Regions from separate parts of the Homo sapiens genome. Here all the other regions are linked to region 1. The links are contacts of gene promoters, found by promoter capture Hi-C in blood cells and fetal thymus (Javierre and others, 2016). All regions are on one chromosome and are shown on one strand. The core of a region is centred on a gene start or on the middle of the fragment in contact, and the rest is flanking DNA. Distances in the headings are between cores, read along the strand shown. Region 1 holds the start of TICAM2 (TIR domain containing adaptor molecule 2). Region 2 overlaps REEP5 (receptor accessory protein 5). Region 3 overlaps LOC105379126 (a long non-coding RNA gene). Region 4 overlaps DCP2 (decapping mRNA 2). Region 5 overlaps YTHDC2 (YTH N6-methyladenosine RNA binding protein C2). Region 6 overlaps YTHDC2 (YTH N6-methyladenosine RNA binding protein C2).

The links. The method cuts DNA at HindIII sites, captures the fragments that hold promoters and counts their contacts. A CHiCAGO score of 5 or more calls a contact.
Region 2: a fragment that was not itself captured here is called in contact with the fragment with the promoter of TICAM2 in region 1 in 1 of 17 cell types (M2 macrophages); the score reaches 5.9 in M2 macrophages.
Region 3: a contact is called between a fragment that was not itself captured here and the fragment with the promoter of TICAM2 in region 1, in 6 of 17 cell types (activated CD4 T cells, M0 macrophages, total CD4 T cells and 3 more). The highest score is 10.1, in activated CD4 T cells.
Region 4: a contact is called between a fragment that was not itself captured here and the fragment with the promoter of TICAM2 in region 1, in 6 of 17 cell types (total CD4 T cells, activated CD4 T cells, naive B cells and 3 more). The highest score is 11.5, in total CD4 T cells.
Region 5: a fragment that was not itself captured here is called in contact with the fragment with the promoter of TICAM2 in region 1 in 1 of 17 cell types (activated CD4 T cells); the score reaches 7.7 in activated CD4 T cells.
Region 6: a contact is called between a fragment that was not itself captured here and the fragment with the promoter of TICAM2 in region 1, in 2 of 17 cell types (total CD8 T cells and total CD4 T cells). The highest score is 9.7, in total CD8 T cells.

What each region holds. Positions count from the first base shown.
Region 1 is chr5:115,600,675-115,604,434 of GRCh38, reverse strand. TICAM2 (TIR domain containing adaptor molecule 2) reads left to right here and starts at 1,956. Exons shown (of 2, transcript NM_021649.7): 1 at 1,956-2,338. All of the region lies in intron 3 of TMED7-TICAM2 (TMED7-TICAM2 readthrough), which reads left to right. It overlaps TICAM2-AS1 (TICAM2 antisense RNA 1), which reads right to left and starts at 2,280. Exons shown (of 3, transcript NR_109875.1): 1 at 1,975-2,280; 2 at 1,279-1,389. RefSeq lists a silencer at 1,965-2,464 and enhancers at 2,084-2,606, 2,555-2,634. The HindIII fragment of the contact is 4,479 bases long and covers 1-3,127 here.
Region 2 is chr5:112,900,747-112,904,506 of GRCh38, reverse strand. REEP5 (receptor accessory protein 5) reads left to right here. Exons shown (of 5, transcript NM_005669.5): 3 at 1,989-2,127. Among named protein-coding and RNA genes, the nearest start is that of REEP5, 20 kb to the left of the region's middle. The HindIII fragment of the contact is 4,622 bases long and covers 1-3,760 here.
Region 3 is chr5:112,970,279-112,974,038 of GRCh38, reverse strand. It overlaps LOC105379126 (a long non-coding RNA gene), which reads left to right. Exons shown (of 2, transcript XR_948679.3): 2 at 2,086-2,228. Among named protein-coding and RNA genes, the nearest start is that of DCP2, 4.6 kb to the left of the region's middle. The HindIII fragment of the contact is 1,357 bases long and covers 1,354-2,710 here.
Region 4 is chr5:112,987,027-112,990,786 of GRCh38, reverse strand. The region is part of intron 2 of DCP2 (decapping mRNA 2); the gene reads right to left. Among named protein-coding and RNA genes, the nearest start is that of DCP2, 12 kb to the right of the region's middle. The HindIII fragment of the contact is 3,500 bases long and covers 253-3,752 here.
Region 5 is chr5:113,548,776-113,552,535 of GRCh38, reverse strand. YTHDC2 (YTH N6-methyladenosine RNA binding protein C2) reads right to left here. Exons shown (of 30, transcript NM_022828.5): 12 at 3,516-3,581. Among named protein-coding and RNA genes, the nearest start is that of YTHDC2, 37 kb to the right of the region's middle. The HindIII fragment of the contact is 573 bases long and covers 1,649-2,221 here.
Region 6 is chr5:113,578,348-113,582,107 of GRCh38, reverse strand. YTHDC2 (YTH N6-methyladenosine RNA binding protein C2) reads right to left here. Exons shown (of 30, transcript NM_022828.5): 24 at 2,413-2,522; 25 at 399-691. Among named protein-coding and RNA genes, the nearest start is that of YTHDC2, 67 kb to the right of the region's middle. The HindIII fragment of the contact is 5,766 bases long and covers 1-3,760 here.

The DNA.
Region 1 (3,760 bases), core at 707-3,206:
CTGGACAATCCATTAGACACTGCCTGTAAGTCAGTATATTTATCAGTTTGTCATGTCGTCCCCTCCTTTCTTGAATGTGAATAACCAGGTATGTAGCTAGAAATTGCCCACTAGGAAGATTCGCTGTCCCCATTAGCAATGCACGGATCTGAAATTGTCTCACTTCTTTACATATCTGTCTGTCTCCCAGATTAGACTATAAAATCTCCATGAGAACTAGGACTGTGTCTCCTGTTCGCACAATATCCCTAATGTCTAGCACATAGAATATATTCTAAACATATGTGGCGTAAGTGATTGATGCATTTTCTTGAACATTTGGAGAGAAAATGTTAAGCAATTAAACTTGTAACCAATTTAAGATTTTTTTTAGTACATGTGACTGTATTATGAAGAACAATGCAAAATTTGGAGCAATTTACAAGAAGATGGAACAGTTCAAGTAAATTTGCCCATGACACTAGTGACTTCAGGCTCTTTTATGTATGCAACCTAAGTGATGAATAGGGAAGTACGTGTTTATGGAATCTGTCATTGGTGGTATTTCAGTGGGAAAATGTGAAAAGCTCTGATTTTGAAGGGTTGCCAGAGAAAGAGGAACAGGCAGAGGAAACTGAAAGAAGAATTTTTTTTTTTTTTTTTTTTTTTTGAGACGGAGTCTCACTCTGTGGCCCAGGCTGGAGTGCAGTGGCGCGATCTCGGCTCACTGCAAGCTCCGCCTCCCGGGTTCAAGCCATTCTCCTGCCTCACCCTCCCAAGTAGCTGGGACTACAGGCAGCTGCCACCACTCCCGGCTAATTTTTTGTATTTTTTAGTAGAGACGGGGTTTCACCGTGTTAGCCAGGATGGTCTCGATCTCCTGACCTCGTGATTCACCCGCCTCGGCCTCCCAACAGGCCTGAAAGAATTTTAACAAGCAGGATGAGCATAAAGGCAAAGTGGGGTTGTCAACATCAAGGAAACAGAGTGTTGGGAAACAATGGTCGACTTTGTCAATCGCCAAAGAGACTCCCAGGAAAAATGAGGGCAACAAAAGTATCAGTTGGATTTAGGAGGCCACTGCTTACCCAAAGAGTTCAGGTAGAATTGTTGGGAGGTGCAGTGGTTGGAGAATCAACTCCGTGAATAATGAATTGTGTTGACACGGTACATAATACGGTATTTCTGACTACATTGGCGGCATTTCACTAAGTAATTACTACCTGAAGTGCCTACCTTCAGTAAGGCATCCTGTTGTTGGATGGGGAAAGAGAAGGAGGAAATAACTCTTAGCTTTACCTGTACTGTGCTTCTGAGACCCAGGTATGGACCTTCACTCCCAATTTACTATCCATGGTCTCATCCGATGTTCAGTAACTGGGTTCTCCTTTGGCAGGGAGTAGGGATTGCCTGAGAATTAAAAGGGGAGGGGAGATTTCTGAACTGGACCTCTTAGGTTATGACTAGATTGGGTGCCTGAGGCAGCAATGGGGCTTTATAAGGCTTCTTTACGCTTCATTTAACTAATTGCTTTTTTGTTCTCTCTTATTCAGTGGAGTTCCAATCTGTTCGGTTGTGGAGAACGAACCTGAGAAAAAGGATCTTTCGCAGGGTAGTTTTTGGGGGCAGAGGCTGATGTGCTGCACCCCCTAATCAGGGGTATGGTTGGCTGCAGTAGTCAAGTGAGAGGGCCGCAAAGGGAAAGGAAAAGTCGAGACTATCTTAGGGAACCAGGAGAGTCGCTGTACCTCTGAAAGATCTACGGTTTGTCTGGTCTGTAAGGAGCAAACACGGTGGAATTCCTTTCCAGATTTTTCTGGGCCTCGACCTCTGGCTTTTGGGGTACATGCCAAAAAAAAAAAAAAAAAAAAAAGCGCAGGGAGAGTCCACTAGCCTCGGTGACAGTTCCCCATTGCGGTTTCCCCTCCTCCACCCTTCTTTGCGAGCTCCTTCCCTCTGCAGAGAGTTATCCCGCCACATTAACCCCTGACTCACAGCTGGACCGCCCCGGCCCGCAGCGCCACGTCCCGGGTGGGGCCTGCCACGGCAAAGCAGCAGTCCGGCCTCGAGCGGCCCCTCGGGGGCGGCGGGGTGGGCGCCAACAGCAGTCAGGCCTGACAAGCGGCGACCTCCAAGGGTGAGGCCTCTGCGGGCCCCCGACTCACGCGCGTCCGGGCTCTGCAAGCGCGGTGGGGAGCAGGCTGCTGTGGTCGCGGGGACTGGGTTGCGGCGCGCCGCGTACGGGACGGCCCCAAACTCTCGACGCCCGGGGCAAGACGCCCACCCCCTGGGCGCTCTCGCTGGGCCAGAAAGGAAGACAGAAAAGCCGCGGGCTGACTGTGGTGGCGCTCGCCTGCAGGCAAGTACCGGGCGCTAGGGCGGGGGCCGCCGCCGGGGGCGCGGGGTGGGCTGGGGCCAGGCCGCCAGGGGCGCGGGGTGGTCTGGGGGCCAGGCCGCCTGCGCTACCTCCCCAGCCTACCCGACCCGACGGCGCGGGTGCTGGCGCTGTTGTCCCCAGCGGGGCGGGCAGGCCTTTCCGTCACTTGGCTTACTCTGAAGGGAAAATCCACACAGCTGTCTGCCTTTTTGTTTCATTTTGACTAGAAAACCCATTTTCGAAAAGACACCTCAGAACCATAAGCAAATAGCCCAGAGTCTTAAATGCTCTAAAGGCTCTGCATGAGCCCCTGCCAGGCACACAGAGCCAGTGCTGGAGGTTTTGGCATGGGTTTTCCTACTTGGCTTTTTGTGCAAAGCTAATTTGGATAAAAATAATTTGACTGGCAGCTGTGAGCTAGTTTTCAGTGTATTAGGACCTCTCCAGCTTTCCACGGTAGTAAACTTCTTAAAGAAAGTATTTTAAAATATTCTCATATTTATTATTATTTTTTAATTTATCCTTTTAATTTTGAAAAGCAAGGGTGGGAAAGGCTATATGATCTGGAGGTAAAAATACACCATTATATAGAGTTGAAGTGTCATCCCCTGAACCCACATTGCACGTCTACACAGGAGAAGAACTTGTCCTTCTCCAAGTGTTTAGTATTCCTTAGATTAGTGTTTTTCAAACAAGCCTGATGGTAAGACGCATTTGGGACTTTTGTTTAAAATGCATCCCCCCACCTCTGAAGGTTTAATTTGGTAAGCTTGATTTCCAGAATCTGTATTTCTATTTTTTTATTGTTTAATTTAATTTTATGTTCTGGGATACATGTGCAGGACTTGCAGGTTTGTTACATAGATAAACGTGTGCCATGGTGGTTTGCTGCACCTATCAGCCCATCAATCCTTACATTTTAATATTTTGAAGTAGTAGGATGGTTATAAATGGAGTTAAGCAACTCCACTTTATATCTCATTCAAATCAGAAAATAGATAAGCAGGTATAGAATATTGACACCTACATTTGAAGCAAAGTAAATGTGACATGTACGCCTTACCGTATGGAACTTGAAGTATAAACCATGTTTACACTGTTGAATCATGGGCATCTGTGTTGAGTCATTTGTTCCTTATGCTATTCTTAAAATGTATTCATTTAACAAATATCTGCTGTTAAATCTTCTGTCTTTAATCCCCCCTAGACCACACATCCCATTCTAGGTCCCGCTCCCCTACTTTGCTTCTTTTTATAACAAACAAAAATCCTCTTTGAAAGATTTAATCTAAGTCTCCATTTTCATTTTCCCTGTTTCTTCCTACCCCCTCTCATCTGAGGCTTTTTGTCCCCATTACCCCCTGCATGGTCCTGATGTTGCCAATGACTGTCTTGTGAAATCCA
Region 2 (3,760 bases), core at 330-2,829, 2.7 Mb after region 1:
AAGTACATAGTTGTGAGCTATTGCGTTCACAAAACTAAGACCTTGAGTGAAATGTAATTACGTATCTCCTCTGCCCAGAATGAATGTACAGGAAACAAATTTTTATTATACTAATAATTAAATAAATCCAATTAAATATGGATAAGCCATACTATACCAAATGAAACACAGCGGGAGAAGAAATCTTACACATAAAGGATATACTGTGTTCTTTGGTTAACATGCTTGTCTACACTTTTCCTTTGGCCTTCTATTACATTCGCCAGCTTCTATCTGAAGGAAGCTAAAAAAATACAGACTTTGTGCATACATTACAAGCCATTTTTTAATAATCAGCTCTCTTAAATTCATTTTATATGATTCTTGTACTTTGAAATATTTGGGGCTGGGTGTGGGAGCCACCAGACTGCACTTTGGGAGGCCAAGGCAGGAGGATTGCTTGAGGCCAGGAGTTCGAGACCAGCCTGGGCAACACAGTGAGACCTTGTCTCTACTAAAAATTTAGCAAGTAGCTAGGTGTGGTGGTGTGTACCTGTAGTACCAGCTACTTGGGAGGCTGAAGTGAAGGGAATTACATAAGCCCAGAAGTTTGAGGTTGCAGTGAGCTATTATTGTGCAACTGCACTCCAGCCTGTGCAGAGACCCTGTCTCAAAAAAATAAAAATTTTGCCTAGTCTTGAAGTTCAAAGCAACATTCACCTTATTACTTGTTCCTCTCTCTGTCTTCCTCATTAGTAATCATCTCATTGAGCTACAATTTTTCCCCTTTTGGTTATTTTCTAAAACTCACACACATAGCTGCTTCTAATTAACTGTACAAGGGCTTTCTTAGTGAGTGACTGAGCATGATTTAGCAGCCTGACTGTCTCTTTGGGGAGCTGATGTTATGGAGTAGCCAATGTATTTGCTTTTTGAAAATTTTTTATTTCAATAGGTTTTTGGGTAACAGGTGGCGTTTGGTTACATGGATAAGTTTTTAGTGGCAATTTCTGAGATTTCGGTGCACCCATCAACTGAGCAGGGTACACTGTACCCAATGTGTAGTCTTTTATCCCTCACTACCCCCAGCCCTTTCCCCAAAGTCCCCATAGTCCATTGTATCTTATGCCTTTGCATCCTCATAGCTTAGCTCCCTGTCAATGTATTTTCAGTAGTTAACCTGTTTCATAGGCTAAACAAGATTCAGAGTTCTTTTATTTTACTGTTTCAGTCCAGCTCAGTTACGATAAATATCTAGATCTGTTAGGATAAGAAATTGTGGAGCTTCAGGTTTAGAATAATGAGATTCCTAGGACTGAAGGAAATTTCTGTGATTTAGAAAATTATTTTAAATGTATTTCCATCCATTTGCAGAATGAATTTTGTTTAAGCAATAGTTAGGGTTGGGAAAGTCCTGTTATTAACTGAGGAGAGGAGGAAAGTCCATAGCCTGTGGATCAGTTAAAGACATTCTGAACTAAATAGACACCATGAGGTTTGTTTTCACCCGTTTACTATAAAATATGCTGTGGATTTTGGGCAGTACCTAACCTATGTTCCAAATGTTGCTTTATGGGAAATTCTTATTCACCCATGATATATCTCAATTATTAAAAGTACATAAGAACCTGGTTATCACGAGAGAATTCTTCCTGATATATCCCTCGTGGCAGGACCCAGCTTGGGAGTGGAAATTGCTCTAGCTCCCAGTCACTAGTGGTATATTCTAGGACTTGTGGGGAGGCTTTGGCAGGGTGGAGATCCAGGGCAGTAACAGCTGGTGCTGGTTTCTCTGGTGACCAGGAGACTAGAAACAAGTGGTTATAATGGCTTGTCCCGATATCCACATTGCTTCCAGTCTTTAAGCTGTACTCTTGCATCTAGTGACACAGTGCCTACATGTGCCTAAGTTTCTCAGTGGTATCAGAGGACAGGTTATGAAAGTGTATTTGAAAATCTTTCATTGATATCTTACCAAATGATATACTTTCTTTTGTACTGCCTTTCAGAATTAAAGCTATAGAGAGTCCCAACAAAGAAGATGATACCCAGTGGCTGACCTACTGGGTAGTGTATGGTGTGTTCAGCATTGCTGAATTCTTCTCTGATATCTTCCTGTCATGGTTCCCCTTCTACTACATGCTGAAGGTATGTTGGTCTTGCTACCACTAAAACTCCATCTCAGTACCTGTATAGAAGAAGTAGGAATAAATGCTTGAATGTTGTGCATCTGTGGCTCTGTCTCAGATTATAAACAAGAAGACAGGCCTGGGCAACAGAGCGAGACTCTGTCTCAAAAAAAACAAAAACAAAAAAATGCTCAAGCAAGCCACTTGCCTCAGCCTCCCGAGTAGCTGGGACCATAGGCGCACACCACTGCACCTGGCTACTCTTTTAAACAATTTTATCTAAAGAAATTTAGATATAGGAAATTAAATATAGGAAGCTCCATCACTCCAACCACCATCATAAATGGTAGTATCTTGAGTTTTAGTTCTGGTTAATTATGGATATATAATTCTTTTTGTCTTTGGTCTTAGCCTTTTTTTTTTTTTTTCTTTTTTTGAGATGGAGTCTTGCTCCGTCGCCCAGGCTAGAGTGCAGTGGCATGATCTTGGCTCACTGCAACCTCCACCCCCCAGGTTCAAGCAATTCTCCTGCCTCAGCCTCCTGAGTAGCAGGGATTACAGGCGCCCACCACCATGCTTGGCTAATTTTTGTATTTTTAGTAGAGACAGGGTTGGTTTTTTTAAAAATCTATTTATTTGTACTTCTTCTGGGAGATTTCTCAATCTGACCTCCTTTTTTTTTTTTCTGAGATGGACTCTTGGTCTGTTGCCCAGGCTAGAGTGCCATGGTACAATCTCCGCTCACTGCAACCTCCGCATCCTGGGTTCAAGTGATTGTCCTGCCTCAGCCTCCCGAGTAGCTGGGATTACAGGCATGTGCCACCACGCCTGGTCAATTTTTGTATTTTTTTTGGTAGAGAAAGAGTTTCACCATGTTGGCCAGGGTGCTCTCGAACTCCTGACCTTAAGCAATCCACCCACCTCGGCCTCCCAAAGTGCTGGGATTACAGGCGTGAGCCACCGTGCCCGGACTCAATCTGACCATCTAATTTTCAACTGTACTCCATGATTACATTATAACCATTCTGTTATTCCTGCTATATACCGTGTTCTTCATTTCAACTATTATATTGTTCACACCTAATGTTTTTGCTTGGCTCTCTTCTTCTTGTCCTTGTTTCATATTGCTAATATTTTCTCATTTCTTTTAGTATGGTTACCGCTCCCCAGTTTAAAATTCTTGGTCAGCAGTTCTAATATTGTTGCTCCTGACCAAAACTTGTAGTTGATTGTGTTGTTTTTCTTTTGAAATGTACTCTTGGCCAGGCGTGGTGGCTCATGCCTGCAATTCTAGCACTTTGGGAGGCCGAGGCGGGCAGATGGCCTGAGCTCAGGAGTTCGAGACCAGCCTGGGCAACACGGTGAAACCCTGTCTCTACTAAAATACAAACGAAATTAGCTGGGTGTGGCAGAGTGCACCTGTAGTCCCAGCTACTCAGGAGGTGAGGCAGGAGAACTGCTTGAATCTGGGATGCAGAGGTTGCAGTGAACCGAGATCACACTACTGCACTCCAGCCTAGGCAACAGAGCCAGACTCCATCTCTAAAAAAAAAAAAAGAAATATATTCTTAAAATATCTTTTTATTTTAGCCTACAAACTGCTTTTCATCCATGAGTATCAGCTATCCCATCAGGCACTGGAATGGAGGGGG
Region 3 (3,760 bases), core at 783-3,282, 2.6 Mb after region 1:
AATGCAGGCTGCACAGGAGGGCTAGGCCCTTTGTTTTGGGCTAAATGAAAGTTGTCAGGTGGAAGCTGTTAGGGAGAGGGTGCAAAATGAAAATGCTATATAAACTGCATGCTTTCTGCAGGTGATGTTGTTCTCATGTCCAGCTCACCTCTAGTGGACCGCTCTGTATGCAAGTTCCTCTCAATAAACCATATGCCTCATTTGCTGGCTCTGGGTCTCTTCTTCAGCCTCTTGAACCTAGTGCCATCCCTGTTAAAGTGAATAGGGACACCAAGGCCTCAATTCCATCTAATTGTTCACAGGACCCAGCTGAGAATGACAAAGGGGAGCTTAGAGTTGAGGTAACAGGAGAACAGGAGATGCTAGGGTTCTTAAATTATAATACTGATTTGATTTTTAAATAATTAGGTTGATTAAAACCTTTATAGTTTTAAAATATGCTATTTCATTTAGTCTTTTTTTTGGAACAAGATCCCACTCTGTTGCCCAGGCTGGAGTGCAGTGGCATAGCTCACTCCTGGGCTCAGTCTCCCACCTCACCCTCCCAAGTAGCTAGGAATACAAGTGCGCACCACCAGGCCTGGCTAATTATTTTTTTAAAAACTTTGTAGAGACAGGGGTCTCACTAGGTTGCCTATGTTAGTCCTAAACTCCTGGCCTCAAGCAATCCTCCTTCCTCAACTTCCCAAAGCACTGGGATTACAGGCATGAGCCACCGTGCCTGGCCTCATTTAGTCTTTATTACTACATGAAATAGACAAAGATTAATGAGGCTTATAAAGATTAAATGACTCAAAGATTAATGATTAAGCAACAGTATATAATTGAGTCAGGACTAGCATTCAGTTCTAAACTCATAGCAGGAATTCTGCCTTAGGGAGAATGACACAAAAACTATTGTTTATGCCTGTACAGCATATTATACTATAATATTCAAATATAATAATCTCACAACAAAATAAGCTGTCACTGAATCCTAAAAAATATTTAACTTGCTTATTGGCCTTTTAAATTGAGTGAGGTCGCCTGTAATCCCAGCACTTTGGGAGGCCAGGGCGGGTGGATCATGAGGTCGGGAGATCGAGACCATCTTGGCTAACACGGTGAAACCCTGTCTCTACTGAAAATACAAAAACTTAGCCAGGTGTGGTGGCAGACGCCTTTGGTCCCAGGTACTTGGGAGGCTGAGGCAGGAGAATGGCGTGAACCCAGGAGGCGGAGCTTGCAGTGAGCAGAGATCACACCACTGCATTCCAGCCTGGGCGACAGAGCGAGACTCTGACTCAAAAAAAATAAAAATAAAAATAAATAAATAATTAAATAGAGTGAGGTTAAATTAAGTCTGTCAAAGCTTCTTCACATCCCTACAAAGTTCTTATGGTTCAACTCAATGTTTATAGAGTAATACATAATTGCCCCTTCTGTTAGTCCCACACTCTTTCTAGTATAATATCTCCCACAGCATATAATATGTTTTAGTAACATCTACCAAGAAACAAAAATCTCCCTTGATCTCTATGGCAGTCTTACTAGATGCTGACTGTATTAGTCCGTTCTCACACTCCTAATAAAGACATACCCGAGACTGGGTAATTTATAAAGGAAAGAGGTTTAATTGACTCAGTTCCACATGGCTGGGGAGGCCTCACATCATGGCAGAAGGCAAAGGAAGAGCAAAGTCATATTTTACATGGCAGCAGGCAAAACGAGCATGTGCAGGGGAACTCCCCTATATAAAACCATCAGGTCTTGTGAGATTTATTCACTGTCATGAGAACAGCACAGGAAAGACCCACCCCCATTATTCAATTACCTCCCACCAGGTGCCTCCCATGACACATGGGAATTATGGAAGCTACAATTCAAGATGAGATTTGGGTGGGGACACAGCCAAACCATGTCACTCACCAATCCCGTTTCCTCTTCCTGGATTCACAGGCCTCCTTGCATTTAGATGGAAAAACGCAATTGAGTTCTGGCCAGTGGAATGAAGATAAACGTGATATACCCAACTTCAAAGCACAGCTCCTGAAATGCTCTATGTAATTTTCACATAATTTTTATTTCTCCCTTTTCTCTTCCCAGCTGAAAGCAAAGAACTCTTTAGATAGTGGAGTCACACTGGAAAAAGCACAGACCCTTGAGTGTACTGCTTGGAGGAGAGCTACCCTGGAGCATTTGCTCCAGATTCTGCATGAGCAAAAAATAAACTTTTGCTGCATAAAGTATCTTGTTTTTTTGTTGTTGGGTTTTTTTTCTCTTTACACACAAACCCTTTTCCATAATCAGTAAATGCAGGTTGTAGTGGTCATTCTTGTTTGCATGCCCAGCACTCATTTACCCAGGGCCAGCTGCATGTGTGTGTATGTATAAACCGTATAGTTGCACAGAACCCTACACTCAGAAAGGCCCCATGTTTGGTTTAATGCTCTGCTGTTACCATCTTGAAATTCTCAATTTTGTTTTTGAACTTGTGTTTTGTAAGTAAAATTGGAGGGACAATAGAGCATGAGCAGAGCCGAGACGTGCAATATGCATGTCCACTCACTCTTTGCCATGCCATTTGCATATAGCATTTGCATTGTCCTATTTAAATAGAATTTCACTGAACTCACAATGCATGAAAGTTCAGCAAGATTCAGAGTAAGAACAACATAGGCACATAGGAACTGAGTAGGTGGGGTCGCTGTCAGCCCTAGGAGGTCAAGCTTCCTGTGTATCAGAACTTGTTCTAATGCAAGAAGACAATGGCAGTCTAAAAACACAAAGAACCAAGAAACTCTATCATATCCTTTCCTATTGCTTTCCTGATTTAGCCAACCCCTTATGCTGAAAATGATGACATAGAAGGAAAGGGGAAGATCGAGCAACCCATCTTTTCCTTTTCTTTTTAGTTTTTTCCTCATCAATAAGAAGGTAGAGAGTGTGGTAGAATATGTATGTGCATATCAAGAAGTGACGTAAAAACAGTTGACTTTCGTACAGCATTTTGACTGTTCTGGTAACAATGAAATATATCATACATGTACAAAGTATGAAATAAGAATTATGTAATTTCAGTGATTCCACGTACAAGTTAAATGTTCTTATATTTGCATTTAAAACCAAAATTGTGGTTGGGCGCAGTGGCTCACACCTGTAATCCCAGCACTTTGGGAGGCTGAGGTGGGCAGATCATGAGGTCAGGAAATCGAGACCATCCTGGCCAATATGGTGAAACCCTGTCTCTACTAAAAATACAAAAATTAGCTGGGTGTGGTGGTGCATGCCTGTAATCTCAGCTACTCGGGAGGCTGAGGCAGGAGAATCACTTGAATCCGGGAGGAAAGATTGCAGTGAGCTGAGATAGCATCTCTGCACTTCAGCCTGGCGACATAGCGAGACTCCATCTCAAAAAAAAAAATAAAAAAGAAAAAAAAAAAAAAAAGCCAGCATTGCATAATATAAAGATGGTAAAAAGTCTTTGTAATGATTTTAATTTTACTTAGAATGAATTTAATTTTACTTAATTTTAATTTTAATCTTTATTTAGAATGACATTAAATATCAAAAACACCATAAGTGAAGAGAGAAACTGTGAAAGAAAGAAAAAGCCTTTATATTCTAGTATTTTTGTTGTTGTTGTAGTTAAGAGATGAGGTCTCAGTTTGTTGCCCAGGCCAGACTTAAACTCCTGGGCTCAGCAATCCTCCTGCGTAACTGATACTATAAGTGTATGCCACCTCGCCTGGCTTTCTAGCACCTTTAGTGACACTTTTTT
Region 4 (3,760 bases), core at 753-3,252, 2.6 Mb after region 1:
TCAGAGCCCAAGTCAAGTCAGCCATATATAACAACACTGTAATTTGGCCAGGTGTGGTGGCTCATACCTGTAACCCTAGCACTTTGGGAGGCCAAAGCAGGAGGAATGCTTGAGCCCAGGAGTTCAAGACCAGCCTGGGCAACATAGTAAGACCCTGTCCCTACAATTTTTTTTTTAAGACAAGCGCAAAGTTAATCTCAATATAATTAGTGCATGCCTTCATTTGGGGAGGGGAAAAAAAAGATGAAAGCTTGGATACAACATTAACCATTCCATGAAGCTCTATGGTTCTATAAGGGCCTGGTAAGATTCTAAAAGGTATTAAAATTCTGGCTTTACATGTTTAGTAAAATCCCTAGCAGAACTTCAGCCAAGGAGCAAATGTGGGATACTCTTGTCTGTATCCACGTTGCTGAGTGCTTACTGAAGGAAAAAAAATCAAAGACTATGCATAATTTACAAAAGAGAAAACAGAGGCATAGACAAGTTCCACAATTTACCCAAGGATACATAGCTAGTAAGTGGCAGAGAAAGGATGCTAACTCAAAGGATGTGGCTCGAGAACGTATGCTCTTATCAAAGTATGCAGTCTTCTCTACTGCAATATCCCACATGTACCATCAACTCAACTGGCCCATAACAGAACCCATCAATTCCCTACATTTCTCATTTTCTTGCCAATGAGATGGCCAAGTAAACGATTTACATGTACAAATATATGTGCTTCTCAAACTTACCCTTTGAATTAGGCACTATTAGTAACCTTATTTTTCAGGAAGAAACTGGGATCCTCAACTGCTCATACTAGAAACCTGGGTACCATCCTTTCTTCTACTTCTCCTCAGATATCCAAATCATCACCAATCTTACCTCCTAAATAGCTCTCAAATTTGATCTCTTCTATTCATTTCTACTACCACAGGTTTTCTCTCTCTAGTAAATTAATAAAATAGCATGTTAACTGGATTCTCAGAATCCAATCTTGCCTTCCCCCAGTTCACTGTTCACACTATTTCACAGCAGTCTTGAAAAATACCCCTATACGGAGAAATAAGCAAATGTAGGAAAACGTTAATAATGAATGAATACAGATGAAGGGTATGATGGCAGTTGTCATGTTCTTTGGCCATCTCCGAAAGTTTTTTCCCAAAATAAGTTTTTTTAATCTGTTTTTTAAAGAAATATGGCCTACAAGACCCCTACATGTTTTAGCCTCTGAATTACTCTGTAGCATCATCTCTTATCTTTCCCATTTAGTCTAAAATACAGTAACTTTTTTCATTTCCTCCGATTTTCCTCACATAAATCACTATCTCAGAGAAGGCTTCTATTTAGCTCCCAAATCTTTTTTTTTTTTTGGAGTAATAGTTAACATTTATTACATTAACATTTATTGATCACTGTGCCAAGTAAACGACTTACATGTACAAATATATGTGTTTCTTAAACTTACCCTTTGAATTAGGCACTATTAATAACTTTGTCAGGAAGAAACTGGGATCCTCATCTAAGATGATTTAAATAACCTACCCAAGATTTTCGAGTGGCCAAGATGGGAATCAAACTCACAGCCTCCAAATCGTAAGTGGGTATCCCTCTTCTGTTCCCACTGAACACTGTGCTTCTGTATCACATCCTACCACACTGCACTGTAATCATTTCCTTTCCTGTCTTTTCTCATCTTCTTGAAGATACTGAGTCTACTCTCTTCACTGCATAAGGCCTGGCACAGAGTAACCATGAAGTTACTTAATGAAGTGTACCACATTAAACATTCCTTCTCCATGTAGCTATTCTTAGTTAACTAAATGAAACATACCTAAAACAAAGGTTGTTGGTGTTTTGTAATAGCAGGCAAAGTGTAAAACTCATGTGCAAACACACACAAAATGTTATCCAAAACCCTAAAGTATGTAAAGTTGCCCTAGAAGGGCTGTAAGTCCATACAAAATGACCAAAGCAAAAGAGGACTTGGTTATCTTAGTTACGTTTCCTTAACTAGATTGTAACTCCTGAAAACCAGGCTACTAAGATTTCTCCAGAGAACCTATCACCAAGGCCTTTAACAAAGATAGTGCTCAATATATTTCTATTTCCCTCTGATTTCTCATTAACTTCTACACATTTAATCAAACGGTTTGATCATTTCTTCCTTTGAAATCTGTCTCCCATCAGTGTTTTCTTTGTAGTCCCACTACTATGGCTCAGGGATTTATTGCCCTGAACGTCAAGTGATGTAACAGACCAACCAATAAATCTTGGATACCATTTTTTTTTTTTTTTTTTTTTTTTATTAAGACACAGTCTCGCTGTGTCACCCAGGCTGGAGTGCAGTGGCGCGAACTCGGCTCACTGCAAGCTCTGCCTCCCGGGTTCACACCATTCTCCTGCCTCAGCCTCCGGAGTAGCTGGGACTACAAGCGCCCGCCACCACGCCCAGCTAATTTTTTGTATTTTTTTTTTTTTTTAGTAGAGACGGGGTTTTACTGTGTTGGCCAGGATGGTCTCGATCTCCTGACTTAGTGATCCGCCCCCCTTGGCCTCCCAAAGTGCTGGGATTACAGGCATGAGCCACCGCACCCGGCCTTGGATACCGTTTTCAAATGATCAGAGTAATATTCTTTACCGTTGCTCAAAAATGTGCTATGGTTAACAGTTAACTGTTACAGAACAATCACTGTTTCATCCATTTTCTACAGAGCCCGAAGGATTCCATACTTCATGAGGCTAAAGGAAAGTGATAGGTAGCTGAGAATGAGGGTATTTCAGCTCACCTATCCCTACTCCAACTCTAGTTCTAGTACACGAACTTGTGGGTACAAATCCATTAAACATACACGTCATGGTCAAAAACAATAACCTGGCCAGGTGCGGTAGCACCTATAATCCCAGCTACTTGGGAAAAATGCGGGAAGACTGCTTAAGCCCAGAAATTCAAGCCAGACTGGGCAACAAGGCAAGACCTTATCTCAAAAAAGGAGAGAAAAAAAAAAGACCTATGGAATAAAAATCAGTTTGGGCACAGTTGCTCATACCTGTAATCCCAGCACTTTGGTAGGCCAAGGCAGGTGGATCACTTGACGGCAGGAGTTTGAGACCAGCCTGGCCAGCATGGCAAAACCCCATCTCTACTAAAAATACAAAAAAAAAAAAAAAAAAAAAAAAAGGCACCTAGGTGTGGTGGCTTGCACCTGTAGTCCCAGCTACTCAGGAGGCTGAGGCATGAAAATCACTTGAACCCTGCAGGTGGAGGCTGCAGTGAGCCAAGATCACACCACCACACTCCAGCCTGGTCAACAAAGTGAGGCTGTCTCGGTTTGTCGGGCGGGCGGGGGGAATAAAAATCAAAGTGCTTTAGCTCAAGATTTAAGAACCCATACGATGCCATCATCACCTCATATGACTTTCCAACCATATCTGCTATTATGGCCCCATGAGAGGACGCTGTTCAATTCAAACTAATTTATTTATTGAGCTATCCTTTTTCAAATCTCCAATTTTTCTTTACCTAAAACACATTCCCCACTTCTACTGAGAAAATCCTATATTCCCTCAAAAATATAGCTTTCCCTAAAATATTTCCACTTTTTTTTCCAAATTCTAGAAACATGTACTATCAGGACCATTAGCAATTACTCAATTATTTGCCTTATGACATAGCTTCTTTTATAATGTTAAATATTCATGTGAATCTTTTATAACTAATAAATCACGACAAGTTTCTGCCTGATATGTACATGGGGAAAGAAGCTTCTCTGAA
Region 5 (3,760 bases), core at 686-3,185, 2.1 Mb after region 1:
ATATCCATAGAATATGTATTAGTCATAAAAATAGTGCTACAACATGGATATTTTATGCTAACTGAAAAAAGCCAATCACAAAAACCACATATCACATGATTTCATTTATATAAAATGTCCAAAATAGACAAATCTATAGAAACTGGAAGTAGATTAGTGGTTGGTCTAAAGCTGGAGGAGGCCTAGGAGAGTTGGGGCGGAATAGGGAGAGACACCTAATGGGTACAAGTTTCTTTTTGTGGTGATGAAACTGTTCTAAAATTGATTGTGGTGATGATTGCATAAGTCTGTGAACATATGAAAAACCATTGAATTGGTCACCTAAATGGGTGAATTATATGGTATATTAATTATATCTCAATAAAACTGTTAAAAACCACAAACTTTCAGCTATCATTTATATTTTCTTAATAGGTTGTATCTAATTGTTTACTACTATAAACAATATTCTGATGTATAGTTCACATTTTTAAAAAACTCAGTAGGTACCAACTTAACATGACTGTTAATTAGAAAATTCTATACTAAAAGCAAGTTGATTATGCTATTTTCCAAAAGCAAGAATCAACATAAATTACTGAAATAAATGCCTTGCTTCTTCATCTTATATGTAAAAATGTAAACTACTGCTATCACTAGCAATTATCAACAGAATTTCTAGGAAGTTCAAATAAATCCAATCTCTCTTAAAGAATTTAGCAGAAAAATAACGTAAGACTATTTTCAATGGGAAAAATATTAAACTTCTACAACTTAATAATTGGCTCTTGTAAATGTTTTATTATACTTTAAGTTCTGGGATACATGTGCACAACATGCAGGTTTGTTACATAGGTATACACGTGCCATGGTAGTTTGCTGCACCCATCAACCCTTCATTTACATTAGGTATTTCTCCTAATGCTATCCCTCCCCTATCCCGGAACCCCTCAAGAGGCCCTGGTGTGTGATGTTCCCCTCCCTGTGTCCATGTGTTCTCAGCTCTTATAAATTTTAAGATCTACTTTAAAACACTGTAAGTTTATTGTTTTTTAATTTTTAACACATAAATGAAGAAGACATTATATTCTGTTTAAAGCTATAACTTTTGGATATAAATTATCAATAATCCAGTAAACATAATAATATATTCAATTTTAAATACCTGAAATTTATAATTGATAATATGATCTATCAAATAAAAAGAAAGCCCAGTTAGCCAGGATAATTAAAATATTATCCAGATAAACGCTTTACCTGGTAACCTGCAGTATCTAGTGAGCTTTACTTAACACCATAAGAATGTCTGGAACATTCAAAGTGTTAACAATAAAAGGACTGCAAGTTCTGGGTGCTACTATTGAAATGACAACTAAACCTACCATATCAGAAATAGCATTTAAACCTACCAAGAATTTTGAGACTCAATGTCACAACTAATTTCAAATGTCTGAGACTACATTTCCAATTTTACATCTATAAAATTAAGTACAAAAACCCAGGTCAAATAAAACATTTTATATGCTCTTGAATAACAGATATTTTAATATATTTTAACTTCAGGCTCCATTGTTTTCTTTTTTGAGTCTCTAAAGGTTGAAAACAGAAGCTTTCAATGTATTATAAAACATATATTCAAAATTTTCTTTAAATATCTAATCTGAAAGCTTCATAATTTATTTAAATATCTAATGTAAATTTATCTAAAATTTCTATCTAAAAGACAATTAATTCGATTGGTTTTACAGGATTCCCTTGTGATTTTTCTTTTTTTGCTAAATCAAAGCAATACATATACATAGTGGTGGTAAATGGTTTTATAGAAGTTATAACAAAAACTCCTAGTCACACTGCTTAGGACTATTCTATTGTTTTAGCCATTCCTTTTTAGTATTTGCTGTCATATTTCTAAGCAACATTCATTTTCTGCTATTTATTGTTTTAACAACGTAGTCATTATCTGCGAACCTCCAACTAATGAAAAATGAGGTTACCACTTCCACTTCCCTACACTTTCCACCCACACCAGTTCCTACAATTTTTGTTAAATCTTCATTCAGCCTTTACTTTACTATGACTGGTAAACATTTACTGCTTAGCCTAATAATATACTATGATTATACCTCCTTTCTTGTGTAACTTTTTGTTTTTCCTAGAGTAACAACTGTCTAATTTTTATTTGCTTAGTTTTCTGTGATCTGATAGTAATTCTTCCCAAATTATCTAACAGATTCATAAAGCTTTTTAATATGATTGACAATGCCAGGTAAATTTTTCCCCCACAGAGACCTCCCTCTAGAGCCCCACATCTTCTGTTCCTATGCGATCAGGCCTACTAGACACAGGTGTCATCAAAACAATCCTCTGTACCAGCATCCTGAGCATTCCTTTCACCTATCCCCTGTGCTGTACCTGCCCGGTTTTACCCGTTTTTTTTTTCTCCCCCAATTTTTGTTTTTCTTTTTACTTCTTTTTTGTGAAGCACATTCTCCAACAGTTTCCTAATAAAGGAGTACATAGGAAGCAAATTTTCTTATGTTTTTTCTACAATTTTCCTGCTCTGAAAGCAATTTTCTAAACTTTATCTTGTAACTCTTCTTTTTTTCTGCTATCATATTTTTAATTTACAAGAATTATTTATTTATTCATTCATTCAACAAACACTCACTGCACATCTACTACATCTAGTTGCTGTTCTTGAACAAGCAGACAATAAGCTTACTACATTCTGGTAGGGAGAAGAGATAGACAATAAATCAATAGAACAGTGAACAAGTATATTACATAGTGTATCAGAGGGTGGTAGGGCTTCTGGAGAAAAAAAGAATACGTAGAACAGGTTAAAGAGGATGGACATTGCGTGGGGGGTAGATTGTAATATCAGATACGGCAAATTTGGGTAGGCCTCATGAAGACAAAATCTGAACAAAGATTTGTGTTCTGTTCCTTTTTGATAGCACACTTTTTATTGCATGAATGCAATATCTTTTATTATAGTTTTGTATTCTAAGTTTTCTCTTTGATAACTAACTCTTTTTTTACTGCTTCACTCAAAGGCCACTGAACAAGCCTCTAAGGAGTTTCAAAGCTAAAATGAGTGTTTCTCATTGGCACTGTGAGTTTTCTTAGTTCTGCTAAGTCAATCAATCAGCTATCTATCATCCCAAAATTAACATCTTCTATCAGTTGCCCTGTCCTCTTCCATTCTCTTTGACTTTGGTTTACACCTTTTAAATTTCTTTATATTGCTTCATTGTCATTTTAGTGAGGTTTTGAGAAATGTAAAAGGTTTGAGAAAATGCAGAGATACTTATGTTGTACCTACCATGTTTAATTGGAAATCCCTCTACTGATTTCTTAAAATAAGACAAATATTATACCATGGTAGATCAGACAGAAAATTTCCTTAGAATCACAAAAAAAAATCTCTGGATAAAAGACTATAAATGGTCTACATTTGAATAGCCCATAATTTATATGGTGAAGCTCTTTTTTAAGAGACGGTAGAATTAATTTAAAATAGTACAAAGTTTTACCTGTAAGATTCTAGAAGATCCACAATTTCAGTCTGCCCAAAGTGTTTAGCCCAATCCAATGCCATCCTGCCAAAATTCAAAGGATATATAAGATGTCATCAAAATTGTAAAACTAGTTCATGATGAGCCTGGGCAACATCAAGACCCTGTCTTTTCAAAAAAATTTTTAAATAAAAAATAAGATAAATTATAGTTAAAAAACAAGTCATTCAAAATTATTAACCCATTAAAACAGAAATTCACCA
Region 6 (3,760 bases), core at 877-3,376, 2.0 Mb after region 1:
GGAGGTTGTTCTTTTAAATGGCCATAGCCAGTATGGCCCAGGGTATCTAGGTAAAATGTTACTTCACATATATCAAGTAAAATACATAATTTTAAAATGTCTATATATTTTTGAGAGACCCAATTCTAGAAATTAGATATTTTGACCTTTTCCTGACAAAGAGTTGCCTTATTAAATAACTCACAGATATCAATAGTTTAAAATTCATATTACCTTAATACTTAGAAGAATTAAGTTGAACAAGTAGAAAACTCTTTCCACTTTATTGCTATCTTTTCATGGATCTTAGATTATAAAAAAGTAATTTTTAAATATTATAAAAGCACATGATTCTAAGATAAATAATTCATTTTCCTGAATAAAAAGTGACCCATTTTGGTAAAATGTCATAAATTTACCTTTCTGCAGTAGTACACTCATCAGAAAATTCAGTATCTGCTGAACTTTTCCTACTATTATTTGACCTCCAAGATGAGGCCAAAGGAAGCTCTTCTGAAGACATAGGCCTTGGCCTTTGGCCAATCCCAGATGGTTGTTGTAAACCTGCAGACTGTTCTTCAGTGCTTAAAACAGCTATAATTGCTCTTATGGTAGCTTCATCAACTTGAGACCAAGGTTTAGATGGAGCTCTCATTCGGCGTAAAAATAAGCTATGCCACTTCTGTCTGAGCTGCAGCAATAAACTAGCTGCCTGTAATAGTTCAAATAGATACAAGCAAATGAATATCACATATGCAAAACACCTATGTGTTGATTAGTTTCCATTAGTTTGCAACTGTTTCCAACAAACTTATTTCACATTTCATATAATTTACTACTAATTTCATTATTTTTAATGCATGAATGAAATAAAATTTATTTATAATATTTTAGGCACTAAGACACAAAATCAAATTAAATAGTCTAATAAGAAAGACAGTAAACAATAGTTGTGGCAGAGTGTGATTAATACTGGAAAAGTAGCAGCAGGGTAAATAAAAATATATGTAGCTCATAGTGTTATTTTAGTGCCTGTAGAACATCCAAATGATCATGTCCTGAAGGCAGCTGGATTCACAGAAAGGTCTAAGACAGAGCTCTAAACTTGAAAGTCACCAGTTCCTAAATGATTGCAAAATATACACATAGAGATAAAGTCCCCAGGGAATGTATAGAGGGAGTAAGAAGATAAGAGTAAGACACAAAGTGCTAGAGAACTTAAAATTTAAGGCACAAACACACACAGCAGGGTCTGTGAAACAACTAAGAAGGACTGACTACAGAGAAAGAATTAAGAAAGATTAATGTTACAGTAACTAGTGACAAAGAATTTGGGGCAGGAGTAAGGAAGAAAACTGGGGAAGGGCAGGAGTACAAAAAGGAGGATATGGACAATAGTGATAAATAATAGAGGTCACATTTATCCCAGACAGCAGACTGACTTTGACAACATGAAGGACACAGTTGACCTTGGCAAGTACAGTTTCAGTGAAGTGATGAATTGGTGGGAATGGAAGTGAGAGTGTAGTAGGTTGAAGTGATGAATGAATGGATGCTAAAATAGTAAACCTAGCCAGTGTTAACTATTGACAGCTTGACGCCTCCCAAAAATGTATAGAGAATGATCTTGGACAGTAGAGATAGAATCAAGGGGAGGCTTTGTCATGAAAATTTGTAATTTGAAAAGAAACATTCATCCTCCCTCAAACCCCCAATTCAGAAGTATATGCAAAGAGAAAATAGTATGGAATCATATCTTTCTCTCAGAAAACACAGTTACACAAAATAAAGGGAGTTCTTGTGTACCCAATACTCAATACTTTCTTATATATCCAGAAATACTCAAGGATTACTGCTACAGTTTGAAGTTTTTGTCCCCTCCAAAACTTCATGTTGAAACTTAACCTCCAATGCAATAGTAATGGGAGGTGTTGGCCTTTGAGGGGTGATTGAGTCATGAGGGCTCTGGCTTCATGAATGGGATTAGGTATCCTTATAAAAGAGCTTGATGGAGGGAGTTCATGCCCTCTTGCCCTACTGCCTTTTGCCATATGAGGACACAGTATTCCTCCACTCTATAGGAGGCAGGGTCCAGCAGCCCTCAACCGACGTCAGCACCTTGATCTCAGACTTAAGATCCTTCAGAACTGTGAGAAATAAATTTCTGTTCTTTATAAATTACTATAGCAGCAACAACAAACTAAGACAATTACCTTGCTTAAATAATGAGCCACAACTAGGTTTTCCAAGTCCTCTGTTGGAATAAACCCCAATACAGAAGAGAATGAATGAGGTCCCCAAGAAAACTGAAAAACAAGTTATATTCTCTGATACTAAGGGCTCAATAGTAAAGAAAAAAATTTTATCATATTATATATCAATTCACACTAACTGAATGAAAGAAATTTATTACACTACTTGAAAGCAACTTACCTCTGGCTCCAGTGTGAAATGGAGCCACTCATCAAGTTTCAAGGCTGCCAAATTAGCTGTAGTTTTGTCCTCCATTTCACTATCACTACTGTCATTGGGAATGCCATCCACTGTCCAAGTACATAATGAAAAAAAAATCACTTTTACCTTCTTACGTTATGGCAAAAAACTAAGAAGAATAAATACGCTTCATATACACAAACCCTCCTGACATACAACAATTTGTGTGGGAAGTCCTTCAAACTCAAAAGATCACATGTTAAATCTCAGTATTTATTTAAAAGGAAAAAAAAGGGACCATTTGAAGACTATAATGTCTCATCACAATGCAACAAAATAAAAAAGACAAGAATATAAAATTTGAAGCACAATCTTTAATAACTGGATGAAAAAGAAACAAATAACATAATTCAAGGAAGGAATGACTATACTACATATCAAAAACTATGAAAGGTGCCCAAAGCAATACTCTTATAAAGTCACAGGTCAGTTTTAAAAAGAAAAAGTATACAGCTAAATATATCTAAGAAAAATAACATAAAACCCAAAGAAAAGTAGAAGAAAATAGAAAATTATAAAAAGATGAATTAGAAAGACAAAATGGTAATTAAAACTATAACCCAGTTCTTTGAAAATATTAATAGATAACCCTCTGTAAATTTAATAAAGGAAGAAGAAAGCAAAAATCTATCTACAAAATTAGGTGAAAATGAGATTATAAAAATACAGAATGCATTATAAAATATGAAATTGATATAGGCTAAAACATACAGTATGTATAAATAATAAATTTGAAATCTTCAAAGAAATTAATTATTTTCTACACGAAAATTACTAAAACTGAAAGTAGAGGAACTAGAAGAACACAAATATATTTAAGGAAGAAATCAGAGATATCCTTAAAGAACATCAACAAAGAAATCCAGAATACCAAGTCTCTCAATTTTGCATGGAATCAAATAATGACCATTCCTGTAATGAGACAAATCTAAACCTAACCCAAAACCTGATTAACACCTAAAACCTACATACCGGAATATGTACAAGCACACACCACACAAACCCTACAGGTCAGCCTCCCCAATGAAGATAAATATAAGTTTTAAATAAAATGTTAGAAAAATATCCAGCAATGTAATAAATCACACTTAGTCCAAGGAAGGTTTATTCTCAGAACAAAATAGCAGTTCCATAAGAAAATCTATATACCACATCAATAGGCTAAATAATTTCTGATTATATGAACAAATGCTCAAATGCTATTTAGTAAATTCAACAAATTTTTAACACATACACAAAAAAACAAAACAAAACAAAACAAAACAAAACCTTCTATGCCAGGTGTGGT